Linked DNA regions of Homo sapiens: all the other regions are linked to region 6. The links are contacts of gene promoters, found by promoter capture Hi-C in blood cells and fetal thymus (Javierre and others, 2016). All regions are on one chromosome and are shown on one strand. Each heading gives the region's core, a stretch centred on a gene start or on the middle of the fragment in contact. The rest is flanking DNA. Distances are from core to core; before and after follow the strand shown.

Region 1 (2,866 bases), core at 90-2,589, 2.6 Mb before region 6:
ACTCGCAAGGTCTGACCAGTTCTTGGTAACAAACATACATGTGTGTGTCTGTGTGTATACAGCAATGCACAGAAAAGGCTACCAGGAGCCTAATGCCTCTTTCAAACATTGGGGGAACCAGTAGAAAAAGGCAGGGCTCCCTAATGTCCATTATTACATTTCCATTCCGAATGCCAGATGTTAAAAGTGCCTGAAGATGGTAACCCAGCTAGTGAGGAATAAATACCCCACCTTGCCCAGTCCACAGAGAAACAACAGTAGAAAGAAGGGGCAACTCTTTGCTGCAGAGACAAAGTGAGTGTTTTTTCGCCATGGATTGCAGTCCTCTCCTCCAGACCAGCTGCTTATTTCCTCAGGGGCCCAGGGAATGTTGATTCTGGCTGTAAATGTGGGAGGGGTGGAGAAGTGCGGAAAAAGGAGAAGAGGAAGAGTGCAAAGTAGCCTCCAGAAGCAGCCAGCCTCAACAGTGGAGGAGAGGACATTAGTCTTTAACAATGCTTCAAGGTCAGCAGTAACTTTAGGAAAATCCTCCTCAGCAGTTCTCTTCAGCTCCTCATGCCCGTGGTACAGTTGGGGGGGACTTGCCAGCAATCACAACCTCCTTCCCAGAGTTCCTTTGATTGAGTGGGATAAAGAATGAGAATGGTGCCAAACCCTCATTGCCAGGACTGAGGGGGAAAGTTGTTCACCTCTGCTAGATCTTGCATTGCTGAGCCCTTGTGATTATATGTAAGCTTGATCCGCATTCGCAGCTGTTGCTATAAGAGGAAAAGAGAAGTGCAAATTATATACTGAAATGAAATCTCCAGAATCTGTCCGGTCCACAAATAGACTTTTAATCTTAGAGGTCAAAACTTAAAGCAAAGCTGTCTGTTAAGAATGACAGGTAAACAACAACAAAAAACACCCAGTACTCTAGGCTTGAGCCAAGAAGCTAACAATGTCATGCCACCAAGTTGAGAAAGCGCATCTGCAGAATACACGGTTAGCTTTAATCCTTGAACTGCATTAAAAGGACAGAACTCCTTGGGAGCATTTTTTCTTTTCTTTTCTTTTGAAACAGGGTTTTGTTCTTATTGCCCAGGCTGGAGTGCAGTGGCACAATCTTGGCTCACCGCCACACCAGACTAATATTTTTATTTTTAGTAGAGACGGGGTTTCACCATGTTGGCCAGGCTGGTCTTCAACTCCTGACCTCAGATAATACACCCACCTCAGCCTCCTAAAATGCTGGCATTACAGGCGTGAGCCACCATGGAGCATTCTCCTAGTAACATTTTGCTGAGTCCTTTTCAAAAAGATTCAAACCTTGTATCCAAGTCTCTTAAAAAATGAGGTGAACATATACTCATCGTACGCTCTCCATTCAGATACACTGTTGCTTTATCTGAAAAACCTACAGTAAATGTGAACATGACCTTTTGTTCCTAAAGCATAAAATTTTAAAAAATGACTTAACTCACAGGTAACAGCAGTAGTTTTAAGAGAACTCAATTAGACACTTTTTGTATGGCAGATTTCAAATACAAATGCACTAAGACATTTTTTACTCTCTGTATCAGATGGTCAAAGGAGTTTGTGCTTGTACTATAGAGGCCGATGCTCAAAATATAGTGAATAGCAGAGGAAAGGCAAGTGTTACAAGAGAAAGAAAGTATACTGTTACTTATGAGCAACTAGTAGAGCTCTATTAAAGAAATTCTCTGAACCATTTTCAAAAACTGAAAACCAACTGATTACTATTAAGGTGAGCTTATTTCTTTGAGAAGAGATAATAAAAATATTGCTTAATTTCAGTTTCTAAAGCTATTTTTCATTTGGCTGCTTCATTTAAAATGCCTCTATTTTTCTATTCATACTTAATAACTGTAGCAGTAAATGTAGGTATTTGGTTTCAACAAATGCTCTTACCTCAGATTTCAACTTGTGTATAAATTAAAATGTCTAAGCTTCTCCCCTACCCCCAAAAACCAGACCTTTAATCTAGCTTTTTTTGAAGTTGCATTTTAATAAGATGCCACTAAGCCACCTGATGTCTCTGGGTTCCATTTGTTATTTACAAAAGAGCAAGGAAGTTAGACCAGGCATTTTCATTGATCTCTTCTCTAACTATGAGTCAGAAAAACCTAAAGAAACAAAGCAGAATTTTATTTCGGGAAATATGCTTACACTTCGGCTCAGATATTGGCTACAAATGTGCTACTCACCTTCTGAGGGTTCAGAACTTTAATGACTTGTGTGATGGTCCCCGTGTTAAATGCTGGGACAATGCTGCTGCTAGGAGACAAGAGCTGCAGCTGGAATGTCTAGGGGGGAACAAAGGGCACTCTTCAGAAAAAGAATTACACAACGCTAGGTCAGAGATACCAAAAACCATTTAGACACCCAGATGATGGGTCAAGCAACAGATTTCACTACTACTAAGTTTTGCCTACTACTTGTTTTCTAGATATCAGGAATTCACAGCACGTGAGTTGACTCCCTGTGGTATTTGTAAAAATCCACTGTTCGGTTCTTTGATCATGACAACTAGTAATAAACCACATTCTCCTTTCTGGCAGAAGGAATTCTAGCCTACCTCTTTTCAAAAGCTGACCAATTCTTCTTCTGGCAACTTCACTTAATGGTAACTGATCAACTATGCAAGTAAAATATCGGTGCTTTTGGCTTAAAAAACAGCCAGAAAGAAATGAAAAGAAAAGCTTCCCAAAAATAGCAAACCAACATACTGGTCACCAACTATAAGCTTTTAGGCTTTTGTGTGATTGGATAACTGGGATGCAGAGACTTGAACTTTTGTTTTTTAAAGCCTGCATAATCTATAATGTGTCAGAGCCTCCTCTCCACATGACAGAAGGAACGGAAA
Region 2 (3,102 bases), core at 441-2,940, 2.3 Mb before region 6:
GTACAGTGGCGCAATCAGAGCTCACTGCAGCCTCTCCCAGGCTCAAGTGATCCTCCCCACTCAGTCCCCTGAGTAGCTGGAACTATAGGTGCATACCACTATGCCTGGCTAACTTCTTATTTTTTTATTTTTGTAGAGATGGATCTCCCTATGTTGCCCAGGCTCACCTTGAACTCTTGGCTTCAAGCAATCCTCCAGCATGTCCTCCCAAGTGCTGGGATTATAGGCATGAGCCACTGTGCCCAGCACATGTGAGGGAGTCTTGAGAATTCTGTGTAGTTTGTCATGTGGGAGAGGTAGCACCCCAGGGTGGTCAAGGGCTTGGCCTGGGTTTGAATCCTGGCTCCTCTCTTTGCTAGCTGTGTTACCTTGAACAAGTTCCTTATCCTCTCTGTGCCCCATTTATAAAAAACGGGATTATTAGATAATAAAAAGACCCAATGCTTATGGGCTGTTGAAGAATTAAATGAGTAAATACACAGAAAGCACATAGCACAGTGCCTGGCACACAGAACCCTCCCAATGTTACCTGTTATTACTAGGAGTTGACTGGCTTTTCTCCTAAAGTACCTGCAGGGCTGGTTCTGCGGACAGCTTTTATGCTTCTGAGGGCTGGATCTTCTCCACTGCAGACAGAAGATGACAATACAGGCATTACTTACTCGTGTTACAGTTTTTATTTCTGCCCCTATTCTGAACTCTTTGAAGGCAGAGGCTATGTTTATCCCCCATTCAATTCAACCAACCGGACTGAGCCTCTGTTGTATGCCAGGCATTGCTGGGCCATGGAGATAAGGGTGAATGAAAAAACACCGACTTGGTCCTACCTTGTTTCCTGGGACCCATCCCACAAACGTGGTAGGTTGAAGAAATTAAGGAAGGTTGATATGAATTCTTTTGAATATAGAGTCAGTTTTTACACTCGTACTAATATCCTCATGCCTTTGACATCTGACCAGTTTCATGCTGGGAAAGGCAGCATTTCTTTGTAAGTTTTGACAGGCTGTGTGGGTTTCCCACCTTGGTTGGCTGTCTTTGCTGACAGGAAGCTGGTCTGAGGATAATATTTGATTTAGCAGCCTGGATCTTGGAAGTTCCTCATTTACAAACTGTCAGGGATGATCCTACTTTTAAGAAGCTCTTAAAAAGCTTAAAATATCAATGTGTATGGTACAAAATATCAATATGTGTGTCTGCCAGTGGCTCAGTTTTGGAGAAGAGAATTGCTGACCGTAAGGCAGTGCAACTGGGAAGCAATGCCTATGTTCCAGGCACCGTGGGACCCTGTAGCCCCTGGTCCTGGTGACTGTGAAAAAAAGGAGAAATTCTAGAAATAGGTGTAATCATGTGAATGTCTTTGTTTAATTTTCTTATCAAGATAAACTGCAATTCTGAACAACATGTGCTGTTCTGAATTCAACAGTCCACTCTCCATTCTGTTTGAAGGTCATGTATACTCTTGTGAAAATCCAGGGTTCTCATTTCATGGCTACTGAGGTATTTATTCCTATACTATTTAAATCAATTAAAAAATATCATTTACAATAACATAAACATCAAATGCTTAAGAATAAATCTAATGAAAGAGGTGCCAGAGGTCTGTATCAATATGAACAAGGCATTAAAATTAAAGACAGCCTAAATAAATGAAGAGAGATGCTACGTGCATTACTCGAAAGACTCAACAGAGTCAAGATGTCAACTCTCCCCAAAGTGATCTGGAGATTCAATGTAATCCCAATAAAAATCCCATCAGGACATTTTGTGAGAATTGGAAAGTTGATTTTAAAATTTACATAAAATGGAAAAGACCTAGAATAGTCAAGACAAACTCTGAAAGAAAATAAAGTTGGAACACTTATAATACCAGATAGCAAGATTTAGTATAAAGTTCCCATTATTGGCCAGGTGTGGAGGCTCATGCCTGTAATGCCAGCACTTTAGGAAGCTGAGGTGGGTGGATCACTTGAGCCCAAGAGTTCAAGTCCAGCCTGGTCAACATGGCAAAACCACATCTCTACAACTACAACAACAACAAGTTGGCTGTGTGTGGTTGCGCATACCTGTAGTCTCAGTTACCTGTGAGGCTGAGGTGGGAGGATTGTTGGAGATCATTGTTGAGGCTGCAGATTGTGTCCCTGCACTCCTGCCTGGGGGACAGTGAGACCCTGTCTCAAAAAAAGTTCCCATTTGTGAACCCCCAAAATTTGAGACAGGTTTCGGTTAATTTAGAAAGCTTATTTTGCCAAGGTTGAGGACGCACACCCAACACAACCTCAGGAGGTCCTGATATATGTCCAAGGCGGTCAGAGCACAGTTTGGTTTTATACATTTTAGGGAGACCTGAGACATCAATCAACATACGTAAGATGAACACTGGTTCCGTCCGCAGAGGCGGGACAAGTCTCAAAGCCAGGAGGGGGCTTCCAGGTCATAGGTAGATAAGAGACAAATGGTTACATTCTTTTGAGGTTCTGATGAGCCTCTCCAAAAGAGGCAAAAGGATATGCATTTATCTCAGTGAGCAGAGGGGTGGCATTGAATAGAATGGGAGGCAGGTTTGCCCTAAGCAGTTCTCTGCTTCACTTTTCCCTTTAGCTTAGTGATTCTGGGGGTTTAAGATAGTTTCCTTTCACACATTATTATTATTATTATTATTATTATTATTTATTTTTTTATTTTTATTTTTTGAGACAGAATCTCGTTCTGTCGCCCAGGCTGGAGTGCAGTGGCGCGATCTCAGCTCACTGCAACTTCCGCCTTCCGGGTTCAAGCGATTCCCCTGCCTCAGCCTCCGAGTAGCTGGGACTACAGGCGCCCGCCACCATGCCCAGCTAATTTTTTGTACTTTAGTAGGGATGGGGTTTCACCATGTTGGCCAGAATGATCTCGATCTCCTGACCTCGTGATCCACCCGCCTCGGCCTCCCAAAATGCTGGGATTACAGGCGTGAGCCACCGCACCCAACCTCCTTTCACACATTATTAAGACAGTATGACAATGGCTCCAGATTAGACAAATAGACTAATGGAAAAGAATAGAGGATTCAGGAGGAGGCCAACACATATATAATCACCTGATGTATAATAAAGATACCACTGG
Region 3 (3,005 bases), core at 170-2,669, 2.2 Mb before region 6:
TCTCCCTTCCCCATCTGCAACCCCCATCTTCTCCCAAGCAGACAAAGAAAAATTAAAGAAAATAGGGGCTAACAAAAACTCAGAAGAGAAACGGATACTGCCAGATAACAAAGAAATGTTGTCCAAACCCCTAATGACAGAAATCTTAACACAACTTCACCAAGGGACCCATTGGGGTCCCCAAGCCATGTGTGATGCAGTCCTTAGAACCTATGGGTGTACAGGGATTTATACCCTCACCAGGCAAGTCACAGACAGTTGTATGGTATGCAGAAAAACCAATAAACAAACTTTAAGAAAACTGCCCTTCGGCGGAAGAAATCCTGGGCTAAGGCCATTCCAAAGTGTCCAAATTGACTTATACCGAAATGCCCCAAATAGGCTGCCTCAAATGTTTGTCAGTTATAGTGGACCATCTCACTCACTGGGTGGAAGCCATTCACCTGCCAAGTGCAACTGCCAATAATGTAGTTAAAGTACTAATAGAAGATACCATACCCAGATTCAGATTAATAGAGAACATTGACTCAGACAATGGAACCCATTTTACTGCACAGGTCATTAAAGGATTAACCCAGACACTAGAGATAAAATGGGAATATCATACTCCCTGGCACCCACCCTCATCAGGAAAAGCAGAAAGAATGAATCAAAATAAATAAATCACCTAACTAAACTAATCTTGGAAACCCGACTGCCATGAACTAAGTACCTCCCTGTCGCCTTACTAAGAATTCGTATCGCCCCTTGAAAAGATATCGGCCTGTCCCCTTATGAAACGCTCTACAGATTGCCATGCTTAAATTCCACCACTGACATCCCTACATTTGAAACAAAACATCAATTTCTTAAAAACTATATACGTGGTCTATCTTCCACCCTTTTTTCCCTCAGGACCCAAGGCCTCTTAGCACAAATGCCGCCTCTAGAGTTTCCAGTACACCCACATCAGCCTGGGGATTATGTGCTCATCAAAAGCTGGAGGGAGGAAAACTCGAACCATCGTGGGAAGGACCCTATCTAATACTCCTAACAACTGAAACAGCAGCCCGAACGGCTGAACAGGGGTGGACTCATCACACTTGGGTAAAAAGGACCCCACCCCTTATGGAATCATGGACCATCACTCCAGGACCAACTCCCTCAAAATTAACATTCAAAAAGGTCTAATTTGTCTCTTCTTCCCCCTAATTGCCCAGGGGCATTTCATTTTTTTTTTTTTTTGAGATGGAGTCTCGCTCTGTTGCCCAGGCTGGAGTGCAGTGGCAAGATCTCCACTCACTGCAAGCTCTGCCTCCTGGGTTCACACCATTCTCCTGCCTCAGCCTCCCGAGTAGCTGGGACTACAGGTGCCTGCCACCATGCCCGGCTAATTTTTTGTATTTTTAGTAGAGACGGGGTTTCACAGTGTTAGCCAGGATGGTTGATCTCCTGACCTTGTGAACTGCCCGCCTCGGCCTCCCAAAGTCCTGGGATTACAGGCATGAGTCACCGTGCCCAGCCCGCATTTCATTGTTAATGTAACCAGGTCAGCCTCCCCTCAAGCTGTTGTGTTTGATGCTTGCCTAGTCATACCTTGCAGAGACCTACAAAGTCAAAGGCAACTAGCCTCTTCAGAAAAGTATCTTTGCCCTTGGTACTCACCCCACCCTCAATCTGATCCTTGCAAGATTCCCTATAATTGGCTACCTTGCCATTCCTGGTACGATATTCTCTGGACCACTCAGTCCCAAGGCTGGACTTCTTCAGCAGGCTGCACCTCCCTAAAACCTTATATCCATTTTACTAAACAAAATAACTCCTCTAACTGCCAACACCTCCGATGTAACCTGGTGCATATTTCTATTACTACTTCAACCTCCACTAACCATATTCCCACCCTAAGTCGCTTTTATGGTATGGGGCAGATGTTAGCGGGAAAGACCCCATAGGGTCCTTTGAGATTCGTTTTGTCGCCCCTCCAGCACCCCTTCCTTCCCGAAGATCTCCTCCAAATGAAACAACTATCTTGCCACTACCTAATGACAAAACTAAAGTGCACATAGTGGAAGTCAAAGACCTAAAACAAACCCTGGCCATCGAGACCGGACACCAAGAAATGAATGCCTGGCTGAAATGGATCAAATATTCAGTTTGCACTTTAAATAAAAGCGACTGTTATGCCTGTGCAATGGGCAGGCCAGAAATCCAAATAGTTCCCTTCCTGCTTGGATGGTCTAACCAACCGGGCATGGACTGTACAGTAGCTCTCTTCCAGCACCCCACAGCCTGGGGTAATAAGTCATGCACCAGTCTCTCACTGCTTTTCCCAAAAGTCAAAGACTTCCCTGTGGGTCAGCCCCCAAGGGCCATCTGGCTCCTGGCCTCTGATGCCAATTTTACCTCTTGTCTCTCATGACGGGGAAAACTTACATCTTTCAGGAATCTAACGGGATGCAGTGAATCCGAGCCTTTTCGAGAGCTCACCAATCAGACTGCCCTTGTCTATCCACAAGCAGATGTTTGGTGGTATTGTGGAGGACCTCTACTGGGTATGCTGCCAAATAATTGGAGCAGCACTTGCACTCTAATCCAACTGGCCATCTCTTTCACCCTGGCATTTCATCAGTCCGACAAAAAGTCACCCTCTTGGGAAGAAAGAGAAGCTCCTCAAGGGTCTTTTGACCCCCATGTCTATATAGAGGCAATTGGAGTACCACGAGTAGCCGCCAATGAATTTAAAGCTCGAAATCAAATAGCTGCCAGGTTTGAGTCAGTCTTATTTTGGTGGTCTACTATAAACAAAAACGTAGACTGGATAAACTATATATATTACAATCAACAAGGATTTGTTAATTATACCAGAGATACCATTTGGGGATAGCCGAGCAATTTGGTCCCACCAGCCAAATGGCCTGGGAAAACAGGATAGCTCTTGACATGACATTAGCAGAAAACGGCAGAGTTTGTGTAATCATCAGAGCCCAATGTTGTACTTTGATCCCAAATAACACAGCTCCCGATGG
Region 4 (2,933 bases), core at 345-2,844, 2.4 Mb before region 6:
TAATCCCAGCACTTTGGGAGGCTGAGGTGGGTAGGTCACTTGAGCTCAGGAGTTCAAGACCAGCCTGGGCAACATGGTGAAACCCCGTCTCTACAAAAAATACAAATATTTAGCCGGGCGTGGTGGCATGCACCTGTAGTCCCAGCTACTCGGGAGGCTGAGGTGGGAGGATCGCTTGAGCCCAGGAGGTCGAGGTTGCAGTGAGCTGAGATCACGCCACTGCACTCCAGCCTGGGCAACAGAGCAACACCTCATCTCAAAAAAAAATTATATATATTATATAAAAAAATAAAATATATATAAATATATATGTATATATATTTTATATATATATACACACATATATAGGTTTTTTGTTTTTTACAAACTTTTCATCTGTTATACCTCTGAATTCTCTTCAAATGTTGCTGCACTTTACTCAAACAGTTCATAATAATAGGGAACTATTTGTCTTTTTTTTTTTTTTTTTGATGGAGTCTATGTTTGCCCAGGCTGGAGTCAGTGACACGATCTTGGCTCACTGCAACCTCCACCTCCCAGGTTCAAGTGATTCTCCTGCCTCAGCCTCCCAAGTAGAGTAGCTGGGATTATAGGTGCCTGCCACCATGCCTGGTTAATTTTTTTTGTATTTTTAGTGGAGATGAGTTTTTTGCCACGTTGGCCAGACTGGTCTCCAACTCCTTACCCCAGGTGATATGGCCCACCTCGGCCTCCCAAAGTGCTGGGATTACAGGTGCAAGCCACCGCGCCCGGCCACTATTTGTCTTTTTAACGAACATTTGGGTGGGAACGATTATCTTCCCAGATAATAGGAAAATGGCTAATTATCTCAAATCTGTGTAGATATTAATGTCAATTTAAGAAGGCACTTTTTGAACACCTTCTATGAGTAGTGCTAGAAGTAAAGAGGATACATAAGGAAATACATATGGCACATAGTCTCTGCCTTCTAGAAGTTTACTATGCAATTACTGAAATAAAATATGCAACAGGTGCGGTGGCTCATGCCTGTAATCCCAGCACTTTGGGAGCCCGAGGTGGCCAGATCACCTGAGGTCAGGAGTTCAAGGCCAGCCTCGCCAACATGGTGAAACCCTGTCTCTACTAAAAATACAAAAAAATTAGCTGGGCATGGTGGCGAGCACCTTAATCCCAGCTACTCGGCAGGTTGCAGCAGGAGAATTGCTTGAAGCCAGGAGGCCGATGTTGCAGAGATCACACTGCTACACTCCAGCCTGGGTGACAGAGCGAGACTCTGTCTCAAAAAAAAAAAAAAAAGCAAAGAAAAACATGCATGTGACACTGTTGAAAACAACACAAGGTAATAGTGTATACTTGGCCTTCTGGTTTCTAGCCTCTCCCTCTTGTGATCCATCCCACAAATTGCTTCATAGTACCAAAACGCTGTATTCTAAATGTCACTCCCCTCTCCCTGCTTAAAAACCTTCAGTAGTTCCCTACGGACTATAGAATGAACTTTGAACTTGGCCTGGCATTCAGCCTTCCACGTGTAGAGTTAAGCATCTCTAACCTCACATCTTCTGACTTTTGAACAAATGAGACCTCTGCTTCATATAAAGTCTCCTTGTCCTCTGAACATGTGGATTCCCGCTTCTGTCTTTGCTCACTTCACTTTCCCTACCTGATGTTCCCTCTCCCTGCCTCTTGTTTTTTAATTTTTTTTTTCAAATCCATTTTCTACCCTCTAAGGCCCAGTTCAGGCGCATGGTCTAGAGGCTTTTCCATTAAGCATTCCCCTTGCTACTTCAGTCCACTGAGCTCTTTTAACTTCCTTCCTCCGAACTTCTCTAGTACATACAGTCTGCAGCATCTGTTTGGCAATTAGCATATACTATCATTCATATTTATATATCTGAGGTTACAATACGGTCTTATAGATCTTATATTGGTTTAGAGCCCTGACATCTAGCACAAGGATCTGCAGAGAGTAGGTATCCTATAACTGTTTGTTAATGTGATATTAAAGATATATCAAGTGTACATACCCCTAAGATAGGTTTCCAACACCTCCCCCAGCAACCAGACACACTTTAAATCCACCATTTCCAACATTTTTAACCCTTTTTCTTTCTTTCTTTTTTTCTCTTCTGCTCAGCAAACTGTGTTTTACATTTAAACTTTTCTTCTTCACAAATTAGCGTGAGCTTCTCCCCTAAATTCAGGTTACTCTTCCATTCCACCCCTTAGCATTCCCAGGTTCCAGAAGACAAAGCCCGATACTCACAGTGAACTTTATTTGGATTTGTCTGTTTCCGACGGGACATGTTTCCCTGATGCAAGAGCTCTGGTCTTTCCCAGTTTCACGACTGGATATGTTACTACCTCCTTGCAAGATGCTAACCTGCAATAAAAAAGGTTATTGTTAGCACATGTCATTTTCCCCAGCAGTTACACAAAATTTAAAGATAAAATGTCCTTAAAAAACAGCTCCTGAGCATATAAAACTCACCAGTTATAAATAATTGAACTAATGAAAGAAAGAAAGAAATGAATAAATCTCTAGCCTAACGTCAAGGTCCCAGAAAGTTTAAGAGGGGACTCCCTCAGAGGACTTAGAGAATTATACTCTAAATCCATCTTTGGAATCCAGAATACTGTTAAGTGATCATGATCAAGGTCACAGGATAAAAGAGGAAGTAAAACTCAGGCATCCAGGGTTAGAAGTACTGTGGGCTCAAGGGGATAACTCCGATGAATTGCAAAAGGAAGCAAAAGGAAGCCAAAGAGGGTGGCAGCTCACATGTCACATGCCCACTGGAAGTCAAGCCCTGCAGTCTACACCAGCGGATTTTTCATGATGTTATCTTGCCTAGAGGTAGCAAAGGCATCACATCCCTGCGAGACAGAAAATGTCTCAAATAGGCATCTGTAAATGAGAACAGCATGGGAAATAAAGCCTCTATCTGGTGATA
Region 5 (3,081 bases), core at 18-2,517, 2.3 Mb before region 6:
TTTCAAATGCCAGAATAAAGGGCTTGCAGTTTATTTGGAAGGTTTCTGAGCAGAGTAGTCCACCCTTTCAAGAGTTTGTGACAATGGAATCATCTGGATGTGGGATGCTTTTGTTTTCAAAGTTCACAGAGCCTCAACTTCTAAACATCTTCATATACATACATAAATAAATGCATGATACATCCACACATATGTTTCAAGCTTTTTTTCCAGATTAAAAAATGATACTTTATTATAATTTTTAAAATTGCAGAACGTCAGGCTGAATATCATTAGACACATACACAAAACCACTCATCTCTAAAGTCATCTTCTATACCCTCTCAAAATTTGGCCAATGAATTATGCCTCAGGGAATTTTCCAGTTCAACCCCATACATAAATGGAAACACTAGCCTTTTGGTTTTGCCCACAGTTCCAAAGTGCTATTACAGGTGGAGTATCTGCTGCAGGAGGTCATTCTTGCTGCTGTGGGTGTGAGTAAAATGTCTATCTGTATGCCTCTGGTCCTGCAGGCTTTGTTCTCTTTCTCCTTGTTTGGTCTCCTTCTACAGGGGTTACCTTACATACTGCAATCAAAAGACATCTTCTGCTCGGAATCAAAACAGATAGTGAGAGGTTCAAGTGAGAAGTAATGTTACATAGTAAGTTACTGAATTTACAATGAGAAATTGAACTCTGGGGTTACAACTCAAATATGATTTCAAGGTAAAGAAAATAATTACTTGGCTGGCTGGTGAAATGCTTAGTTCCTTCTAAAATCATAATTGCAATATGGACTTCTGCTTCATGCTGCATTCCAAGGCACCAATCAGGTAACCTACATCTCCCAAATGATCAACAGAGCGTTCCTTCCTATTTTACCCTCAGTGCTGAGAAATTACTCCTGAGCCCAGAAGTTGTTGTGTAGGTGACTTGGGTGACTTGGTGCCCAGGCAACAACTGCCACAGGCCCCACCTTGATGAACACCATTGATTTCTTTAAATATGATGATACTAAGATGGAGGCCCCTGCTCAGAGGAAGCAAGGACGTAAAAGCCAGGACAGGCTGCGCTGAGGGTCACTACACTAACAGACCCAGACGACACGATGGAACGTGAATACTGAAGCCAACAATCTTCTGGAACTCTCTTTTCCAAAACTCATATGCTGTTTTTTCTAATTGGGAAATCAGGGACAGGGAAACATTCGCATAATTACCCACCAACATGTTCTTCTTAACAGAAATGAAGATTATTATTATTTTTTTTTTGAGACAGACTGTTGCTTTGTCGCCCAGGCTCGAGTTCAGTGGCGCAATCTCAGCTCACTGCAAGCTCCGCCTCCCGGGTTCACGCCATTCTCCTGCCTCAGCCTCCCGAGTAGCTGGGACTACAGGCGCCTGCCACCACGCCCGGCTAATTTTTTGTATTTTTAGTAGAGACGGGGTTTCACCGTGTTAGCCAGGATGGTCTCGATCTCCTGACCTCGTGATCCGCCCTCCTCAGCCTCCCAAAGTGCTGGGATTACAGACATGAGCCATCGTGCCCGGCTCCACTTTGGTTTTTTCTAATCGGTTCAGGATCTCATTTACTTTCTTCTCCATTGTCACAATTTTTACATCCTTCTGCCTGTGAAAGCCTATCTGCCTCACATCCACGTCAGCTGTTTTCTTCAGGTTAGACCGTGGAGTATTTACCACATTAACGTTGTTCTTGCAGCCTTGAGTGCTATTGGCCTTCACAAGGTGGGCGCAGTCTGTCAGCACTTCCTTTGGAATGTCCTCTATATTCTCTCCCTTATGCAATTGAAGGTATACATGAGCCAAAGAGAGTCTGTCCGCACGAAACCAGATATATTCAGGCCAGCCATGCTTCATCAGATCTTCATGATGATTTATGGGTTAGTAGGAGAGATATAAAACTCAAGGGCCGGGCGCGGTGGCTCATGCCTGTAATCCCAGCACTTTGGGAGGCTGAGGTGGGCGGATCACGAGGTCAGGAGATTGAGACCATTCTGGCCAAAATGGTGAAACCCTGTCTCTATTTCATATTTATCCTTTCCCATGTAAATAGCGCAGGCAGATGAATTAACGCTGCTGCTGGTGAAGTAGAACACCATGATGCTGGCGGGGGTGCGGTGACTCCACCGTGGAGCAGCAGCGTTCAACTGTGGCGGTTGCCTGGTCCCCGGAACTCTCCTCTTTTTTTTTTTTTTAATGCATTATGGAAACTTTTTTATGTGATTTTTGTACATAAGGAATATGAGAGTAACTCTTTTACAAATGAAACTAATTTACTAGAACAAACAGTGACAAAACTGAACTGATATTTGATGTGAATCCATAGGAGTTTAAGCTTCAAATCCAGCCAAGAAATTTGTTACAACTCCATCAGCTTTGCATCTGAGTCTTCTGAGATCTTTCCATCAGCCCTGATAGTGCCCAACAGGGCTTAGCGCTGGCTGACAACATGAGACAAGAAAGCATTCTCAAACTTTGTAATCTTGCTGGGCTCCAGTTTATCAAGATACCCCCTTACACCCGCACAGATAACAGCCACTTGTTGTTCAGTAACCATGGGAGGATACTGTCCTTGCTTCAGCAACTCAGTTAGACGCACACCGCGACTCAATAGTTGTTGAGTGGGAGCATTGAGGTCAGAACCAAACTGGGCAAAAGCAGCAACCTCACGATCCTGAGCCAATTCCAGCTTCATGGTACCTGCCGCCTGCTTCATAGTCCTGGTTTGGGCAGCAGATCCAACACAAGACACAGACAGACCCAATGTTAATGGCAGAGCGGATATCTTTGTAGAACAATTCTGTTTCCAAGATCTGTCTGTCAGTGATGGAAATGACATTTGTTGGAATGTAAGCAGACACATCATCGGCCTGTGTTTCTATGACTAGCAAAGCAGTCAAGGAGCCACCACCAAAAGCATCATTCATTTTGGCTGCTCTCTCCAGCAACCGGGAGTATAGGTAAAACACATCACCAGGACAGGCCTTACGACCAGGGGGGTCGGTGGAGCAACAGAGACATCTGACAGTAAGCGACAGCCTGTTTGGATAAGTCGTCATAGATGATCAAAGTATATTTG
Region 6 (3,158 bases), core at 659-3,158:
ACCTGGGAGGTGAAGGTTGCAGTGAGCCAAGATTGTGCCACTGCATTCCGGACTGGGTGACAGAGCGAGACTGTCTCTCATTTATTTAAAAAAAAAAAAAAAAGTAAACAGGAGTTTACAAACTAAACAAGAGCTTACATTCTAATGAGAGACAAAGAATGAACAGAATAAGTAAATTCTACAAACTATTCACAAGTGGTAAAAACTATGGAGAAAACTAAAGCAGAAACACATTAGGGGGAGAAAGACAAAATTTTTTCAAAGCGTGAGAAAAAGCCCACCTCGAGAGCAACATTTGAGCAACAATTTTCATTTGTAATGAGAAAATACCGACTTCGTAAGGTTGTTACAAGCCTTGTTAACACAGCATGGGCCTCACCTGAAAGCTTGTTAGAAGCTCAGAATTTCAGGTCCCATCTCAGACCTACAGAATCAGAATCTGAATTTTAACAAGGTCCCCTGGTGATTTGTAAGCATATCAAAGTTTGAGAAGCATTAATTAAAAGGATTAAATATTTGCGTCTGAACCAGGGCTGGCATATTATAGGCACTCAATAGATTCAATAATTCTTAGTTTTCTTTCCCCATTAACATAACCCTTATATCTTTCTAGTTATAATTAAGAATGAATGGCCAGGCACAGTAGCTCACACCTGTAATCCCAGCAGTTTGGGAGGCTGAGGTGGGAGGATTGCTTGAGGCTGGGGGTTTAAGACCAGCTTGGACAACATAGTGAGACACCAACTGTACCAAAAAAAAAAATGAAAAAATAAAGATAGCATTGAGTCTCTTCAATTAATTATGAATATTAAGCATATCCTGCCATTTACTTCCTTGCAGATCTAGCAGAAAATCTGAAAATAAAGCCAAGTTGCAGACAGAAGACAAAGATAAATTCACATGCAGACAAATTCAAACTCCTGACTACATTAATGTCTCTCATTGGTGGCCAAATTTCAGTCTAATCTTTGCTAATGTTTTTCACCACCCACAAATAAGAGAGACTGAGTGTGTCCCTTGACATTTGGAGATCAGGAAGTCCACCTTAAAAAGACAAGAGGCCAAAATGTTGGGAAAATCCTCTGGTGATAAAGGGAAAGCAAAAATTGTTTAAAAACAGAACAAAATATAAGTAAATAATTCAGGTTGCTTAAGTACTGTTTTCGTTTACAGAAACAGCAACTTCAAATGAGACGATATAAACCTGTATGATTTTTCTTATAATTTGCCTCCTGCAAATAAGCTTAAGTCTTTGTCTACCTTAGTCTTCTCTTTCCTAGCTACATATCACAACATACTTCCTTACTGCCTTCCTTCCGTCTTTTCTTCAACGCTTCTGTAAATTTTGATTTCAAAAGCAACGGCACAATTGCGTTCTTCTAGCCCTAGTTACGCAGTAATATAACGACAGGTGGAAACCTGCAGGTTGCCACGTTCATTGCAAAGTGTCCACAGTAAAGATAAAGGAGAAATTCCCCCGGCAATGAAAACGAGAATGAGATAAATTACCAAATTACATTAAAAGCGTGCTCTTATGTTAGAGATTTAAAGTTCCTCTCAGAAATCGCGGAGGATTTTGACCTGAAGCAAAAGTGAACTTCTTCCGGGTGGTAGAAAAGTAAACTGTCAACTATTTACTTTGGGGGGGTGGCGGGGGGAGGGTGCTGGGAAGGAATTGAGGCGAAAAGCCTCTGCAGGTGACGGTACAGGCCAATACCAGGAGGTCAAGTCGCCGGTGTCCCTTCGGCCCTTAAGTCCAGGGAAACGCACGGCGAGGGACGAGGGGCGATTCCCGCCTTTCTCCAGCCCTTTCTCCGCCCACAAATGACGGCGGTGGCGAAGATCCGGGCCCGCCGCGCGAGGCACTCTGGGAGCGGAAGAAGGAGGCCGCGCGAGGGCTGACGAACCGGAAGAAGAGGAACTGGGCCTGAAAGGGTACCGGTGACCGCTACTGCTGCCGGTGTTTGCGTGTGGCAGGGAGCCAGGCCTGGCGAGCGGGGTGTGTCGCGATGCCGGAGCTGGCAGTGCAGAAGGTGGTGGTCCACCCCCTGGTGCTGCTCAGTGTGGTGGATCATTTCAACCGGTGAGCGAGCGCCCTATAGCTGGGCCGGCGGCGCAGCCGCTGCTGAGTCACGGGCACGCTGGAGATGGCGCGGCGGCCGCGGACGAGCTGGGGACGCAGATAGGGCGGCTGGTGACCCTTACTTGTTCACGAGTCCAGACCAGCGTCGGCTCACGATGCCGGAGTCATCCAGCCTCCCGCCCCTGCCCCAGCCGCCGCCACTTCGGGGCCTTGGCTGCCTGTTCCGTTTAGCCTGTTTGTTTTACAGAGTTCCCTTTCCGAGTTCGTTTTGCCGAAGTTCGTTTTACCGAAATCTGGATGATGCTGGGGGTCGGGAGATGCGGCTAGCTTTAGTTGGCCCTGACCCCCGCCCCCAAGCTCGTGTCTGTCACTTCGTTTTGAAGTTCGTTTTGCCGAAATCTGGATAAAGCCAGGGTGGGGCGGAGGCGGGCTAGCTTCATTTGGCTCTGACCCCCGACCCCAGGGTCGTATCTTCATTTGACTCAGTTGATTTCACTGAAATGTGAATAATGCAAAGTGACTGATGTCTGGATGATGCTTGGGTGGGGCGGAGTGGGCTAGCTCCATTTAGCCCCGCCCCAAGGCTATGTTTATCTTCGTTTGACCGAATTGGTTTCACCGAAATATGGATGATGCTGGAGTGGGGTGCAGGGTGGCTACCTTCATTTGGCCCTGACCCCGGCCCCAGGGTCGTATTTATGTTTATCCTCGTTTAACCAAGTTGATTTCACCGAAATGTGAATGATGCAAAGTGAATGATGCCTGGATGATGCCGGAGTGGGGCTAAGGGGGCTAGCTTCAATTTGGCCCTGACCCCCGCCCCCAGGGTCGTATCTATGTTTGTCTTCATTTGACCGAGTTCCTGTTATCGAAATCTGGATGATGCTCAGCACCCCGAAGGGCTTCCTGGATCAGCTGTGGTTTTAACCCATTAACATTTTTAAATGGGAATCTGATTAGACTCCGTCTCAAAAAAAAAAATGTATATATAGATGAGGTTTCAGTTTTTATTTAAAACACGAGGCCGAGCATGGTGGCTCACGCCTGTAATCCCAGCATTTTGGGAGGCTGAGAC
Region 7 (3,088 bases), core at 397-2,896, 2.5 Mb before region 6:
GGCCGAGGCGGGCGGATTACCTGAGCTCAGGAGTTCGAGATCTGCCTGGGCAACATGATGAAACCCCATCTCTACTAAAATACAACAACAAAAAATTAGCCGGGCGTGGCGGCGTGTGCCTGTAGTCCCAGCTACTTGGGAGGCTGAGGCAGGAGAACTGCTTGAACCCGGGAGGCGTAGGTTGCAGTGAGCCGAGACCGTGCCACTGCACTCCAGCCTGGAGACAGAGGGAGACTTCGTCTCAAAAAATAAATAAATAAAAATAAAGACATACTTTTTATTCAAGCATGCTAGACTGCAAACATGCCTTTAGAATAAAAGTGACGAGATTACGAGTACTTAGAGGGTTCATATTTTTCAAACGTGAAAGTTAGGGTGTGTGACAAGTTAGGTATTTGACAAGTATTCTAGGGAACGGTGGAAGTGAATATTTAAAATTCAGCTATCCCCAGAAAAACCCAATACATGAAATCATTACAAGTATTTTTTAGAATCAGTCAGCAAAGATCATTACTGTACAAACACTTCAAAGTTAAGGTCACTAAGAAAGCACTAACTCCTCCCTTCTGTTAACTAATCACTGTAAAGCAGCCCAACTCTCCTTTCTACCTACCTCAGATTAATATTTTTCTCCATGGACAGATTTCCGTGCTCAGGGATATATAATAGGGGAGAAAAAAAAATACCACACAAGTGTCAGTAAGCACCAAAAAGCTAAGTATTCAGCACAGGGAGGGAATCCACATATGAGAAAACATTTGACAGCTCTTGCCTCCCAAAAGCCATTTAATCTGCTTCATAAACATAATCTGCTTCATAAACATTACCCTGAGCGAGTGGTTCGATGGATCTCCTACACCGAGTCCTAACCGGGAAACACAATCAACCGAACCGTCCCGACTCTTTCAGGCAATCAGGAAGACCGGGAGAATTATTAGACGCTGACGTCCGCAGGGCCAGGAGCTGAGAAAAGGGTAAACAGTATACTCGCAGGTAGGTTGAAAAAAACAAAACAACAACATATACACACACACACGAAAAATTGGGAAAGAAGTTGGTCGGAAGGTTAGAGAGAGGCGAGGCCGATGTCCGGTTCCGAGAGGACGGCACTGCAGGGGCAGGCAGCGATTAACTGGGCATTTGGATATGCTGGGAGTTATCTGACAGACCTGACACGGGTACAAGACACAAGAACGCTGATACGTGGCTCAGAGAAGACACGCGGGGGTGGGGCCCGCCCCGCTAAACCCCAGGCTCCCTGAATGAGCCCTCAAAGATCGCAGCCTGAGAAAGTCAAGGGTTCAAGGAGGCCCGTACCGGCGGGGCAACGCCACAACACGGAACGCCGCGGCGCGCGGAACCTCCCGGTCCGAGGCCTCGGGGTCGGCCCTCCAGAAGTCGGAGCAGCCCCTGGGGCTCCCGGCCTCTCCTGGCCCAGCTTCTCTGTCTTCTCTTCTCAACACCCACAGCCTGGGACTGGACCCCTGAAACTGAAAGGAAGCTTCCGGTCGAGCGCCCGCGGCAGCGGCGGGGCAAAAGCAGCAATATGCTCTCAGCGCCGGGAGTGACACTCACCGGCCCGAAACCTCGAATGAAACCAGCAGCTCCGGGGGCGGCGGCAGCAGTGGCAGCAGGAACCGAACATCCAAAATGGCGGCTCCCTCGGCCTCACCACCGCTACCGCAGGCGGAGGGATCCTGAGGAAGGAGGGAGTTTTTAACTAACTTCACACACTATTGAGGAAACTTCGCTCCCTGTCCTCCTCTCCTGGTCGTTTCCGTGTCCTCGTACTGCAACTTATCGTGCCTTTTCTCTCGAATTATCCAAGAACTCGGACCCTGCCGAGGACTATTTGCCAAGGAGGAGGCGACTGCTCCTGGCAGAGCGACGCAAACGTAGCAAGGATCGGGGCTGTCACTGATGACGCGAGACGCTGCTGCCGAGTCACCGCTGCGATGAGTCTGAGCGAGAAAGATCCGGCCTACCCCGTAGCGGACGGACATTGGTTCCGCTTGGTGAGGGGGTAGGGGGGTGGGGGGTAGGGGGGTGGGGGGGTAGGGGGGGTGGAGCTGGGCTACCAGGAAGCGGTGGAGCCACCTGGAGGGGGCGGAGCTAAGTCAGGTAGCCCAGGAAGTGAGAGCAAGCGAGACAGGTGGGGGCGGAGAAGACAGCAGGGCTGAAAAGGTCTTCGTCCACGGGAATCCCGAACTCTTTGCTGTCTCCTTTAAGATTTTTGCTTTCTTTATAACTTAAGGAGCATGCTCCAGGTGGTATTCTATGGTTTTATGGTGTCTTTGCAACATATTTTATGAAGAGTTAAGAGGATGACTGAAAAGAATGGATTCCACGCCCGGTACCGCGGTGCTTGCACTGCTCAAGTCACTTAAACTCTCCAGGGATTCAATTTCCTCATATGTAGAAAGAAGACTTGGACTCATGTTAGCTGAAACCCTTACAGAATGGGCTTTCGGTCTATGACTCCATGAATTAATAACCAGGGCCAAAGAAAGTCTAACCAGACAGTTCCTAACCTGATAAATAATTACTAACATATGACGTGAGTCTTTTCCATGTGAATGTAAAGAGGGCCTGATATCTTGGCCTGTTTAAAGGAAAGGTGACCTACCTAGACTAAAATCCTTCTGCTAGATTGGCAACAAAGTACAATACAACACAGCAGCAGGCTGGGTGCCAAAGAGAACAGAACCAACCACACAAAAAAAATTTTTTTTTTTTTTTTGAGACAAAGTCTCGCTCTGTTGCCCAGGCTGGAGTGCAGTGGCGGGATCCCGGCTCACTACAACCTTGCCTCCCGGGGTCAAGCAATTTCTCGTGCTTCAGCCTCGCAAGTAGCTGGGATTACAGGCTCCCGCCACCACGGCCGTCTAATATTTGCATTTTTAGTAGAGAGAGGGTTTCGCCATGTTGGCCAGGCTGGTCTTGAACTCCTGACCTCAGGTGATCTGCCTGCGTCGGCCTCCCAAAGTGTGGAGATGACAGGTGTGAGCCACCGGCCTGGCCAGAACTAACCACAAATCTTGAGTTTAGGATTTGGGTGTCATAGAGAGAAGGTTGCACTTTTTTCCTT

The links. The method cuts DNA at HindIII sites, captures the fragments that hold promoters and counts their contacts. A CHiCAGO score of 5 or more calls a contact.
Region 1: a fragment that was not itself captured here is called in contact with the fragment with the promoter of PSMD7 in region 6 in 1 of 17 cell types (monocytes); the score reaches 5.4 in monocytes.
Region 2: a contact is called between a fragment that was not itself captured here and the fragment with the promoter of PSMD7 in region 6, in 1 of 17 cell types (M2 macrophages). The highest score is 7.1, in M2 macrophages.
Region 3: a contact is called between a fragment that was not itself captured here and the fragment with the promoter of PSMD7 in region 6, in 9 of 17 cell types (non-activated CD4 T cells, total CD4 T cells, total B cells and 6 more). The highest score is 9.4, in non-activated CD4 T cells.
Region 4: a fragment that was not itself captured here is called in contact with the fragment with the promoter of PSMD7 in region 6 in 1 of 17 cell types (neutrophils); the score reaches 6.1 in neutrophils.
Region 5: a fragment that was not itself captured here is called in contact with the fragment with the promoter of PSMD7 in region 6 in 2 of 17 cell types (naive CD8 T cells and total CD4 T cells); the score reaches 5.5 in naive CD8 T cells.
Region 7: a contact is called between the fragment with the promoter of AP1G1 here and the fragment with the promoter of PSMD7 in region 6, in 11 of 17 cell types (fetal thymus, naive CD8 T cells, total CD8 T cells and 8 more). The highest score is 12.7, in fetal thymus.

Annotation. Positions count from the first base shown.
Region 1 is chr16:71,732,402-71,735,267 of GRCh38, forward strand. AP1G1 (adaptor related protein complex 1 subunit gamma 1) reads right to left here. Exons shown (of 23, transcript NM_001128.6): 22 at 2,208-2,306; 23 at 1-758. The coding sequence ends at 657. Among named protein-coding and RNA genes, the nearest start is that of PHLPP2, 9.1 kb to the left of the region's middle. The HindIII fragment of the contact is 1,215 bases long and covers 733-1,947 here.
Region 2 is chr16:72,043,732-72,046,833 of GRCh38, forward strand. No RefSeq gene overlaps it. Among named protein-coding and RNA genes, the nearest start is that of HP, 9.2 kb to the right of the region's middle. The HindIII fragment of the contact is 1,087 bases long and covers 1,148-2,234 here.
Region 3 is chr16:72,080,988-72,083,992 of GRCh38, forward strand. No RefSeq gene overlaps it. Among named protein-coding and RNA genes, the nearest start is that of TXNL4B, 11 kb to the right of the region's middle. The HindIII fragment of the contact is 8,593 bases long and covers 1-3,005 here.
Region 4 is chr16:71,877,662-71,880,594 of GRCh38, forward strand. It overlaps ZNF821 (zinc finger protein 821), which reads right to left. Exons shown (of 8, transcript NM_001201552.2): 3 at 2,246-2,362. The coding sequence starts at 2,285. Among named protein-coding and RNA genes, the nearest start is that of ZNF821, 5.1 kb to the right of the region's middle. The HindIII fragment of the contact is 8,509 bases long and covers 1-2,933 here.
Region 5 is chr16:72,002,705-72,005,785 of GRCh38, forward strand. It overlaps the pseudogene ATP5F1AP3. Among named protein-coding and RNA genes, the nearest start is that of PKD1L3, 3.8 kb to the left of the region's middle. The HindIII fragment of the contact is 2,136 bases long and covers 200-2,335 here.
Region 6 is chr16:74,294,906-74,298,063 of GRCh38, forward strand. It overlaps PSMD7 (proteasome 26S subunit, non-ATPase 7), which reads left to right and starts at 1,909. Exons shown (of 7, transcript NM_002811.5): 1 at 1,909-2,083. The coding sequence starts at 2,010. RefSeq lists enhancers at 1,142-2,033, 1,824-2,133, 2,034-2,923. The HindIII fragment of the contact is 3,645 bases long and covers 1,242-3,158 here.
Region 7 is chr16:71,807,188-71,810,275 of GRCh38, forward strand. It overlaps AP1G1 (adaptor related protein complex 1 subunit gamma 1), which reads right to left and starts at 1,647. Exons shown (of 23, transcript NM_001128.6): 1 at 1,576-1,647. It overlaps LOC124903714 (a long non-coding RNA gene), which reads left to right and starts at 1,771. Exons shown (of 2, transcript XR_007065110.1): 1 at 1,771-2,015. RefSeq lists enhancers at 778-1,425, 1,369-2,058, 2,619-2,698. The HindIII fragment of the contact is 17,673 bases long and covers 1,500-3,088 here.